2 separate regions of the Homo sapiens genome follow, and region 2 is linked to region 1. Evidence: promoter capture Hi-C in 16 types of primary human blood cells and fetal thymus (Javierre and others, 2016). All regions are on one chromosome and are shown on one strand. The core of a region is centred on a gene start or on the middle of the fragment in contact, and the rest is flanking DNA. Distances in the headings are between cores, read along the strand shown. Region 1 holds the start of SMARCC2 (SWI/SNF related BAF chromatin remodeling complex subunit C2). Region 2 overlaps ERBB3 (erb-b2 receptor tyrosine kinase 3).

Region 1 (5,806 bases), core at 1,564-4,063:
CCCTTGTGCCATTGCATCATGTGGCCTGGAAGAGGGGAGTGAAAGAAACCAACACACAGAAAGCACCACCTTGTGCTAACACTTTACTGGATTACCTCAGGTACCATTAAGGAAACTCTACAAGGTAGGTTTACTAATCCCATCTAGAGATGAAGGAACCAAGACTCATGAATGTTGCCCAAGATCACAGAGCCATCCAATGGCAAAGCCAGGATTTGAACACAAGCCTGCACAAATCCAAATCTCAAGTCCCCTTTTAACCATGCCATGAGAGACCTGTGGACTGATCCCAGGTACTCTGAAATAATTTGTTGCACAAAATATTACTAAGACAAAAAGAATGGTAAACTGGAGACTAGGCCAAGCCAATAATGCCCTGATCAGGGATAGGGATGGTGGAAAATAACCCAAATTTCAAAAATTACAAAATTCACAAATCTTTTTTTAAAATACAACTCTTCAGTTTGAAGGATTCACCACCACCACCCCCCACCCTCCCTGCTACTTCTGCACTCACCGGCAGTTTAGTGAGCGGTGCATTGCTGACATGTTTGCCAAAAACTTCTTCCTGAAATTGTAGCAACTGTACAACCAGGCTAGACAGGGACTTGTTGGTGGGTGGTTCAGCTTGTATATACTAAGGAAAAAGAGGGAAAGGAAAGAAAAATAGATCTCAGATAAATTGTCCACTATCTCCCATATTTCTCCCCCAGGGGCTCTGGAAGCATGTGGAGCAAAGAAAATAGTGCCCTTCTCCCCATTTAGTCTCTATAAAGAAAATGGCAAAAGGGAGGCCCTGGACACCCCAACCAGGAAGCTGAAATTCTGCTGCCACCAGCCCAGGTGGCCAGTGTTGGGGGGAACAGGGAAGCTTACTACTCTTCCTCAGTTATACTCTGAAATTGGAGTTGCAGGACCCTATTATCTTGGCACCTCATCTTTAACCAACAGCACTGAGGGTTGTAAAATTCTGGAGGTTTATAAAGTTCAGGTCATGGAAGCAATACCTCTGGGGCTCTAAGAGAGACATTTCTTAGGGGAACTCTGTAAAGCCATGATTCCCCCTATAATGTAGCCTAACAAGAAAAGGTACAAGGAAGTGAAGGAGGGCAAGTTGACTGAGTGAGCTTGTGCATTTTGCTTCTGAAGACTGGGTATAAATGTCTTCATAGGCCCTCCTAGACAGGAAGGGCCATCCACTACCCAGCCTGATGGAGAAGAGCAAGACAACATCTACCCTGTCCGAGGAAACTGTATCTGAGACAAGTAACCCTGGCCCTACTTCTATGTTTCCACACTCTGCTACCTAGTAGCATCCTAGCCTTCCATTCTAATTTGAACCTGAGCCAGGAGACTTTCTTTTTACTTTTTGACCCGTTTTCTCCCCACTCATCACAAAGAAGACAGTGCCTCTCAGTGAGAGGTGAAAAGAGATAGATCTGTGAAGGGAAAGGTAAATGACAAAGAGCTAAGAGCATGGAAGCTGAACCAGGTCACAACTGTCAATTCCCCCAAGGCCGGAGGCTAAGCCCCTAGCCTGATCTCCCTGCAAAAGGTCAAAGGTAGAAGCCTGGGAATAAGAGCCTCTCACAGGCGTAGAGACATGCCATAGAAATAGCAGCTATTTGTCAGGATTCTCACACCCAGAGAGACCCCAAGGGCAGGGCCAGGCTCACAACCAGCATCAGTAGGAAGTTCTCCTAAGCCACTAAGCACACTTCTGACGAGCTGCAAAGCCGGCAGGAAGAACTGGGGAGCTGAAAGAAAGCCATAAAGAGAATCCCTCTCTGAGGGTAGTGAGAAAAAGAGAGGCAGACCATTTCCAGAGAAAACCAGGCCTAGAGACAAAGACGACACCAGGAAGAGGTTTGGTAGAAAAGACAGGTAAGGATTCTTGAACCTTTTGTTCACCACCTTATGATCTCCAGTTATGGGGTTTGGGTGTGAGGGGCTAGAGATAGGAAGCTCACCCTAACCTCTCGACCCCAAACCCAGGGTACTGCAAAGCTAGGTTGCAAGGTGACTTCATTGTAAAATCGAGGAAAGGTTTCGGAAGGGGCCGCTACCCAGGAACTCCTATACCCCGGCTCCCTGAGAGATTCTGTTGCCCCTTAGATGAAGGTGGGGGATGAGCGGCGGAGACAGGTGATCCCTGGGTGGAGACCTTTTTCAGGCTGATGAGCAGCCAACGGCTTGCTCTGTGACTGTTTACCCTCCTGCTTTCCATTCTCTCTCTCTGAACATACACAAAGCACCGGAGAGGCCTCAGCCCCGCTGGTACCTGGCTCCGTGGGGAGCTCTGGCGGGCACGCTCCGGGTTGCGGGGGAGCCCATTGGGCACCCGGTCCACACCCGGCCGGCCGCCTCTCCCAGAAAAGCCAGGAGGGCGATGGCTGAGGGGAAGGTGGGCTAATGGCACCGGGGCCCGCCGGGCAGTAGAGAAAAACAAGGGGCAGAGGGCGCAGCAGTGGGGGCGGGGGCTGGGCTCAGAGGCTGGGGGTGCGGGGAGAGGGAGGCTGGGGGAGGGGCGCGGGAGCGCAGGAGGGCGCGCGGGGGGCTGCTTGGGAGGCCGCGGGGGAGGGGCTGGGGCGCCTGGAGGGTAGGCAGGATCCCGGGGCTGCAGGGCCGCGGTCCCTTTGTCCCGCCCCCGGTCCCCGCGCGGCCCGGCCCGGCCCGCGTACCTTCTTGTAGTTCTTGCCGAGCCACAGCCGCACGTTGTCGAACTGGGTCACGGTGTCCGCGGCCTCGTAGTACTTCACGTTGGGGCCGCCGTCCTTCTTCCGCACCGCCATCTTCTCCGGCTCGGGCCCCGCCGCCGCCCGCCCCACTCAGCTCAGCTCCCGCCTCCTCCGCCTCCTCCTCCGCCCGCCTCCCGCCGCCTCCCGCCGCCGCGGCCGCCGCCTCCCGCCGCCTGGGCCGGCCCCGGTCCGCGCTGCGCCCCCTGCCGGCAGGCCGGGCGCGGCGGCGGAGCTCCAGGCGCGGGCCGACCCTGGCGGCCTCCCCGGCAGCGGAGGCGGGAGCCTCCGGGGAGAAGGACGCTTCCTGGAGGGGGCGCCATTCTCCTGAGATCGCTCTTACCAGACGCGAAGCCCTTTCCCTCTTTTTGCCTCAGCTCGGGAGTGTCACCTCGCTATCCCACTCCAGGCGGCCGCCAGTCGCTGGAGCAGCCCCAACCCGTAGACCCGAGTGGTCCTCACCTTGCGCATTCCTAACCCGACGAAGCCCCTCGTCCCCCAAAACCCCAAACCCCTTTCCCCAAGAAGTTCCTTCCTTCCATCCATTCACAGCAGCTCCCCATTTAAACTTTTCAGAGTCTCCCTCACTCCTCGCGCCTTGTCCACCCAGCACTCCCCTCACTTGTTAACCCAAATGTCCCCTAGTCGCCACCCTGGCGGCCCAGTGCCTTCCCTCAACTGCTTCCTCCGCAGGCCTCGCTGTCGCCTCCTAAGTAGGTGTGAGCTCCTACTCGAGACCCCGACTCTTCGCTAGGCAGGAGACCCTCCCTCCCTGGGTCACCCAGTCCATCCGACTCTTTTTCTTTGGGTGGCGTAGATAGGAGGTAAGGAACCGAGGGGTGGGGAGTCCTCAGGTGTGTGTGTGTCGGGGCCGGTACCCTGCTTCCGGTTCCCGCACGCATTCCCGGATTGCAGTGCGGACCCCTTCTGTAAGCGCGCGATAAAGCGCGGTTTTGGAAGTCACGGTGGCCGAGTGGTTAAGGCGTTGGACTCGAAATCCAATGGGGTTTCCCCGCACAGGTTCGAATCCTGTTCGTGACGGGTTTTTTTTTTTTTTCTTTCTTCTTCTTATTATTAAAAGGGAGTCTCGCTCTGTTGCTCAGGCTGGAGTGCAGTGGCGCGATCTCGGCTCACCGCAACCTCCGCTTCCCGGGTTCAAGCAATTCTCCTGCCTTAGCTTCCCGAGTAGCTGGGACCACAGGCATGCGTCACCATACCTGGCTAATTTTTGTATTTTTAGTAGAGACAGGTTCACCATATTGGCCAGGCTGGTCTCAAACTCCTGACCTCAGGTTATCTGCCCGCCTCGGCCTCCCAAAATGCTGGGATTACAGGCGTCGACTTTTTTAACCCCTTTCACAGCACATAAAGGTAACCCCAGTTCTCACACGTTTCTTTCGTGCACTTTCTCTCTCCAAAAGGGAAGCCGCCAAAAGGTCTTAACCCCTGGATTTGGGAGGATGGGAGTGATCTTGGGAAGTTTAATTATGCACGACTGTATTGGCTGCTAGACTGTGAGGCATTTTCAGAATTTTGTAACTTCAGGCTTCCTGGGAGAGCTTTGGCACATGTCTCATTCTTTTGAGGGCATAGGGAAGGATTTGGTTGAAGGGTTACATTTTGGGAATGTGAGTGGCTGTTTTGCAATATTAGTCAAACTTAGAGTTTCCTCTAAATTTCATGACCAGAAGTCACACCTTGTAGGTCTGATTACACCGAAGACCCAGGAAACAGGATTCTCTCATCTGGATTTCCTTGAGGTGTACAGGGCTAGAAGGGAGTAGTCTATTGAAACATCATTGCAGATCCAGTTAGAGCCAAGGTATGGGAAGATAATTCTCACTTTTTATTGAGTGCTTATTATGTGCCAGATACTGTTTTAAATTATCTATGTGTATTAACCAAGCAAGGAAATTAATCTCATCTTTAACCTTTAACCCTCCTATACTCATCTCACCCCATTTTTCCTATCCCCTAATTTCTGATTGTGGGGAGGATCTAGGCTGCTTGTTGAGGATTTTGTTGTTTGTTTTGGGGGGTTGTTTTTGTGACAGGGTCCCGCTCTGTCGCCCAGGCTGGAGTGCATTGGTGCGATCTCAGTTCACTGCAACCTCAAACTCCCAGGCCCAAGCAATCCTCCCTCCTCAGTAGCTGGGACTACAGGCATGCACCACCACGCCCAGCTAACTTTTTGTATTTTTAGTAGAGACGGCGTTCTGGGATTTCGCCATGTTGCCCAGACTGGTCTCAAACTCCTGGACTCAAGCAATCCGCCTGCCTCAGCCTCCCAAAGTGGTGGGATTACAGGTGTGAGCCACTGTGCCTGGCCAAGGATGTTCTTTTTGTATTTCTTGCACAGCCTTTTGTCCAAAAGGAATCCCAAAGGGCAGGGGGCTCTAGGGTAATACATAGAGCTTTCTACACATTTATACCTTAGAGTTTCCCACCTTCATACCACTGCTCAGGCTGTTATTTCCAGCATGACCCTCACATTGCCTCCCTGTCCCTCACCATTAACACTTTCCAAAATTCTTTAGGCCCCTCCTCTTTGATGCTCTTGATCACTCCAGCTGCCTGTCAGTCTACCACCACCACCATTCACTAAATTGCATGCAAGGACTTCTCCCTTGATATGCTAACATAAAAATAAAATAAAAACAGGGGTGGGTGTGGTGGCTCACGCCTGTAATCCCAGCACTTTGGGAGGCTGAGGCAGGCGGATCACGAGGTCAGGAGTTCAAGACCAGCCTGGCCAATGTAGTGAAATCCCATCTCTACTAAAAATGCAAAAATTAGCTGGGTGTGGTTGGCGGGCGCCTGTAATCCCAGCTACTTGGGAAGCTGAGGTAGGAGAAATCACTTGAACCCAAGAGGCAGAGGTTGCAGTGAGCCAAGATCGTGCCACTGCACTCCAGCTTGGGCGATGCAGCAAGACTCTGTCTCAAATAAAATAAAATTAAAATAAAATAGAAACAGGTTCCATTTATTTTACCTTCTAAATATGTCTCAAATATGCTCACTTTTCTCAGGGGTGAGTGCAGGCTGAGCTAGAGCCTTCATTTGGAAGGTAG
Region 2 (5,806 bases), core at 2,859-5,358, 110 kb before region 1:
GACGCTCTGCAGGTGCTGGGCTTGCTTTTCAGCCTGGCCCGGGGCTCCGAGGTGGGCAACTCTCAGGCAGGTAAGTGGCGCGAGAGCACCGGCGGGCTCGGCACCTGGGAGCCGGAACCCAGTGCGCGCAGCCTCGGAGGGTATGGGCACGGTCTCAGGCGGCGCGGGGTTGTGGGTGCTGCCCCCGGTTTGCCAGGACCACCTGGGAGAGGGGCGGTCAGGCTCGGGTTATCGGCGTGGTCCGGCCGAGGGCGGCATTCCGGGACCCTCACGCCACCCTTCTCCAGAGCGTCGCCGACCCTCTAATTGGTCTCCCCAGAAGAGGCTGAGGCCGAAACAGTAGTTCACACTTCTGAGGGGCCCTGCAGGGAGGGGAGCAGGGAACTTCATTCTGTAAACAGGAGGTGCTTGGAGGTGGGGGCCTTGGCGGGAAGGGTCTCGGTTTGCTCGCCAACCCCCTGCCCCCCACCCGCGCCGATTTCAGCTACCCCTAGTTTCGTTGTTTTGCCGACAGGGCGGAGCTACAGAAGGTTGGAGGGGGTTGTTGTTCTCTGGTGTTGGAAAAACAGGAGCGGCACCTCCTCTTCCGTGAGTGAGCCTGCCCTGGGGAGGTCTGAGATTAACCAGAGGGCCAAGTTCAGGTGACATCAGGCAGGAGGCCCAACAGAGGCTGGCGCCCCCTTTCCTCAGTATAGCAGAGCTTAAGCAACATCTCTTTGTCAAGACCCAGGTCAACACAACTCATATTTATTGAGCATCTACTATACACAAGGCCCTGGGCCAGGAGCTGTAAGGGCAAGGATGTCCAGCCTCTGGTCTTTTCTCTCCCCAACCTGAGGATCAAGAGGGCACCTCTGCTACTTTCTAAGCCTCCTGCCTTGGGGAGTCCTTCCTGGGCTCAGCTTGTGCCTCCCGCCCCCATTTTGCTTATTGTCTGACACTGTCTCTAGGACCCTAGACAGAGCCCCGGATTGCTCTTCTCCAGTCCTCCCCCGACTCCCATGCTATCTGAGCCCACCCCTTTGGGGTGTCTCTGGGACCGTGGACACCTGAGGACTGAAGTTCTGTGGATCTCCTCCCCTCCCCTCAGATCTCAGCTTGGGGTTTGGCACAGCCAGGGCCCCTTCCCCAGTGTGGGAGTGGAAGAAACCACCTGTGCTTCCCTCACAGTTGCTGGGCCTAAATTTAGATCCTGGGATTTTTAGATGTGAACACTCCCAGCTGGTGGAGGGGGGTGGTCTGGGGACTGGCGTGGGAGGGAGCAGTGGAGTGACTGTATAACTGTCCCATCCAGACTCCTGCAATCTTCACCCAGAAACCCAGGAGTACCAGAGTCTGGCCACCCTCCCTGGGGAGGCAGGAGGCAGGCATGGTTGGGTCTCTTTACCCTTTATCTGGGTCCTGCAGCCTCTGGGCATCCGGCCCTGTCTCAGTCCTTCTATAGCCCCTTTGTCCTGGCTGTGATGGGGGTGGGGGATGTTGGAGGGGAGGCCTCTGGTTGAGGAGGGGCTGGAGATTCTGGCTCTATCCCACCCCTAGTGCTCTCTACCAAAGGAGGGCCTGTGACACTGCCCCTCCCTATGCTCCCGGTTCCTGGGTACAGCAGGGATTTTTATGATTCCCTTCCCCTGCCCTGCTCCCCAAGCTGCCTAGCTCCTCCCCAGAGGTGTTGTTTGTGCTCCCTTCCTGCCCAGGCCCTTTGCCCCCTGTTTGTGTAATATGGACTTTACCCTCAGGGTAGCAGGGAACTGGGCTACCTCTAACACTGTAGCCTTCCAAGCACAGACACAAAGTCTGCACAAACACTTATGGGCACGTGGGATAGATGGGGCCACCTGAAATACTTCCTGCAAGGAAACCCAACTATAGATTCCTGAGCCAGCAGGACCAATGTGTACGTGTTCGTGTGTACATTGTGTGTGTATGTGTGTGCCCACACTACTACTTCCCTGTGCAGAAAGCTTGGCTCCTCCCTTATCTGGGGAGAAGTGTTGGCACTATAACTTGGGAAAGGGGGTATCCTGCCAGGAAGGGGATTGGGGTGGGGCTGTTCCAGAAATGACTAACCTTCCTAGTCTCTTTCATTTCAACCCAAGGACCCTGGAGTTCCCAGCTCCTCTGGAACTAGCTCTCTTTGCTGGGACTAGCCAACCTTCATGGGGAGTGATAAGGAGCCCTCCAAGGTCAAGAAGTCAGACTAGGGGTGTATGTTATAGGAGGGATTGGGGCCTCACCAGTCTCCCTCCCTCCATTCCCACTGTTGCCTCCCACTGAGCTACCACCGCCTCAGGGAAGGGTGGCTGGAACAGGTGGTATCTACCCCCTACTCCCCACCCCACACATGGTCTTTCCCTGAACCAGAGGAAAGAGACTGGGGTAGGGCTTCAGAGTCCAGGACTTCCCATAGCCCGTTGTCCACCACATTTGCAAAGAAGAGTGAACTCCCAAGGCTGACATGCCATGTACCTCTAGTCTAGGCTCTCCCCTAGTGTGGGTGAGGATTGCCATGGTGAAAGGCTTTTTCATGAACCTCTTCTAACAATGAAATTGTGTGGAGGCTCAATATGGGGCATCTGCTACTATCTCTCTCCAGGTTCCTCTGTATTTGCTGAAAAATACTCTAGGGCTGGAAAGTGATGCTGAGGTTGCTAGAGTGTGTTGGGATGGGGGAGAGAGTGAGAAGGAAACCCTGAGTTTAGGAAGGCGGGGAGGCAACTAGCTCCTTATCTTTCAGCTTTAAAGACAAAGCTCCCATTGACCCCCCCTCACCCCAGCACTGCCAGAGCTCCCCCCTCTACTGAGGTCACTTGTCTGAGCCCAAGGCTTGAGGGTGGAGGGGAGTGCTGCTGAGGACGGGGTGTCTAGGGACAGGGTGGGGCAGCCCCCCTCCTGGATAGAATCGCCTCATTGTGGGCTGGACTGTGGCCCCAGGCACTGCCCCCACCCTCTGCCCCCATCCCACCCTCAGTAGACACAATAGGGGCTGTGTACTAGTCCCAAAGAGATATTTATTCCAGGACCTAGAGAGAGGCAGGATGAGGGTAGAGAAGTGAGTGCCCTAGTTGGAGGGGGAGAGGAGGGTAATCAAAGTTGCGGCCTTTTCCTAACTTCTCTTTTCTAGGGAGAGAAACAAATTCCCTGTCTTCCTTCTCAGTTAACCCCTTAGTACCCAAAAGAAGCACAGAGGGGTCCCAGGTTGAAAAAGGAAATCTTTTCACCTTCCCATTCATGGAATGGTAAGGGGATTCTGAGAAGAGAGAAAGCTCTCAGGCCACTACAGCTTCTGCCTATCGCTTGTGGGAGGGTTGGAGGCAAATGCCATCTGATCCTGTCTAATGTAACTGGAAGAGGGCAACCAAGGGGGTGATCTTTGGGGATGGCAGATGGGCTGAGAATTTGTGTCCAGCCCTCAGCCACTCTTCCCTCTGCTTTGAACAGTGTGTCCTGGGACTCTGAATGGCCTGAGTGTGACCGGCGATGCTGAGAACCAATACCAGACACTGTACAAGCTCTACGAGAGGTGTGAGGTGGTGATGGGGAACCTTGAGATTGTGCTCACGGGACACAATGCCGACCTCTCCTTCCTGCAGGTTAGTGAGCCCACCCTCCTTCCTCAACCTGCTCCTCTTTATTCTCCCCTAGAACCCTCCTTCCTTCTTCAGGGCTACCTTCTGCTGGAGTTCACCCTTCCTAAGACTCAGGAGTTCCTAAGATTCAAAACCGTGTATTTATGGGGACAGTGGCTGTCATCTGGGACCTATGGTCTCACTGTTGTAGCCAGGGATATATAGGGGGCAGGGTCAGGGGCAGGTGGTGTTCTGTGGATAGTGCAAGGTCAGCAGGGACTAGTGCAGAGAGAAACCTGAGGACCAAGAGGTTACCTGGGGAGATGAGGAAGGGGCCCTACTGGTATGAGGCACTTTGAGGAGAAAGCTGCCTGTCTTCACTCCCAGAAGTGACACAGCAGTGTGACACAGTCTACTCCCTACTCCCAAATAGGAATTAGCAAGAGTTAAGGCCAGGTGCAGTGGCTCATGCCTGTAATCCCAGCACTTTGGGAGGCCAAGGAAGGCAGATCACTTGAGGTCAGGAGTTCAAGACCAGCCTGGGCAATGTGGTGAAACGCTGTCTCTACAAAAATACAAAAATTAGCTGGGTATGGTGGCATGCACCTGTAGTCCCAGCTACTTGGAGGGCTGAGGTGGGAGGATTGCTTGAGCCCAGGAGTTTGACGCTGCAGTGAGCGAGATTGTGCCACTCGTAACAGAGCGAGACCCTGTCTCACCAAAAAAAAAAAAAAAGGCCAAGCTCGGATCACCTGAGGTCAGGAGTTCGAGACCAGCCTGACCAACATGGAAAAACCACATCTCTACTAAAAATACAAAATTAGCCAGGTGTAGTGGCACATGCCTGTAATCCCAGCTACTTGGGAGGCTGCGGCAGGAGAATTGCTTGAACCCGGGAGGTGGAGGTTGTGGTGAGCCAAGATCGCACTATTGTACTCCAGCCTGGGCAACAAGAGCGTAACTCCGTCTCAAATTTTAAAAAAAAGAAAAAAAGAAAGGAAAGAAAGAAGGAAGAATTAAAACAGTTAAAGAGTCTTTAATGCCTGAAGGAGGAGAGGAGATTGAGATTATTTTGCCCTGTTGTCTCTCTCATTTACATAATCTGCTCTGTCACAGTGGATTCGAGAAGTGACAGGCTATGTCCTCGTGGCCATGAATGAATTCTCTACTCTACCATTGCCCAACCTCCGCGTGGTGCGAGGGACCCAGGTCTACGATGGGAAGTTTGCCATCTTCGTCATGTTGAACTATAACACCAACTCCAGCCACGCTCTGCGCCAGCTCCGCTTGACTCAGCTCACCGGTCAGTTCCCGATGGTTCCTTCTGGCCTCACCCCTCAGCCAGCCCAAGACTGGTACCTCCTTGATGATGACCCAAGACTGCTCACTCTAAGTGCCTCTTCCAAGGTGCCTGTCACCTTGGCCGCTGTCTAAAGGTCCATTGCTCCCTAAGCAATAGAGGGCCCCCAGTAGGGGGAGCTAGGGGCATCTGCTCCAGGGAAAGGAACCCTGTGTCCTTGTGGGGCTGGAGTCAGAGCTGGATCTGTTAACCGTTTTTCTAATTTCAAAGTACAGTGTACCGGAGGCCAGGCCTGATGGCTTACACCTGTAATCCCAGCATTTTGGGAGGCCAAGGAGGGCAGATCACTTGAGATCAGGAGTTTGAGACCAGCCTGGCCAACATGGCGAAACCCTGTCTCTACTAAAAATACAAAAAAATAAAATAAAATAAAAAATTAGCTGGCTATAGTGGTGCGCACCTGTAATCCCAGCTGTTCATGAGGCTGAGGCAGGAGACTCGCTTGAACCTGGGAGGTGGAGGTTGCAGTGAGCTGAGATTGCACCACTGCACTCTAGCGTAAGTGACAGTGAGACTCCGTCTCAAAAAAAAAAAAAAAAAAAAAAAAAAGCCTGGGCGCGGTGGCTCACGCCTGTAATCCCAGCACTTTGGGAGGCCAAGGCAGGTGGATCACAAGGTCAGGAGATCGAGACCATCCTGGCTAACACGGTGAAACCCCGTCTCTACTAAAAATACAAAAAATTAGCCAGGTGTGGTGGCGGGCGCCTGTAGTCCGAGCTACTCGGGAGGCTGAGGCAGGAGAATGGCGTGAACCCGGGAGGCGGAGCTTGCAGTGAGCCAAGATTGCACCACTGCACTCCAGCCTGGGCGACAGAGCGAGACTCCAAAAAAAAAAAAAAAAAAAAAAACCAAAGTACAGTATACCTGGATGTCCCTCCTT

Evidence for each region. Contacts are between HindIII fragments. The CHiCAGO score rates a contact against its expected background, and 5 or more counts as called.
Region 2: a fragment that was not itself captured here is called in contact with the fragment with the promoter of SMARCC2 in region 1 in 1 of 17 cell types (M2 macrophages); the score reaches 6.8 in M2 macrophages.

The regions. Positions count from the first base shown.
Region 1 is chr12:56,186,670-56,192,475 of GRCh38, forward strand. SMARCC2 (SWI/SNF related BAF chromatin remodeling complex subunit C2) reads right to left here and starts at 2,814. Exons shown (of 29, transcript NM_001330288.2): 1 at 2,682-2,814; 2 at 518-637. The coding sequence starts at 2,792. It overlaps TRS-CGA4-1 (tRNA-Ser (anticodon CGA) 4-1), which reads left to right and starts at 3,695; the gene lies at 3,695-3,776. LOC107984468 (a long non-coding RNA gene) reads left to right here and starts at 4,023. Exons shown (of 2, transcript XR_007063330.1): 1 at 4,023-4,557. RefSeq lists silencers at 2,551-2,770, 2,841-3,120 and an enhancer at 3,361-3,460. The HindIII fragment of the contact is 5,408 bases long and covers 870-5,806 here.
Region 2 is chr12:56,080,313-56,086,118 of GRCh38, forward strand. It overlaps ERBB3 (erb-b2 receptor tyrosine kinase 3), which reads left to right. Exons shown (of 28, transcript NM_001982.4): 1 at 1-70; 2 at 3,439-3,590; 3 at 4,683-4,869. Among named protein-coding and RNA genes, the nearest start is that of ERBB3, 3.1 kb to the left of the region's middle. RefSeq lists an enhancer at 1-500. The HindIII fragment of the contact is 4,298 bases long and covers 1,960-5,806 here.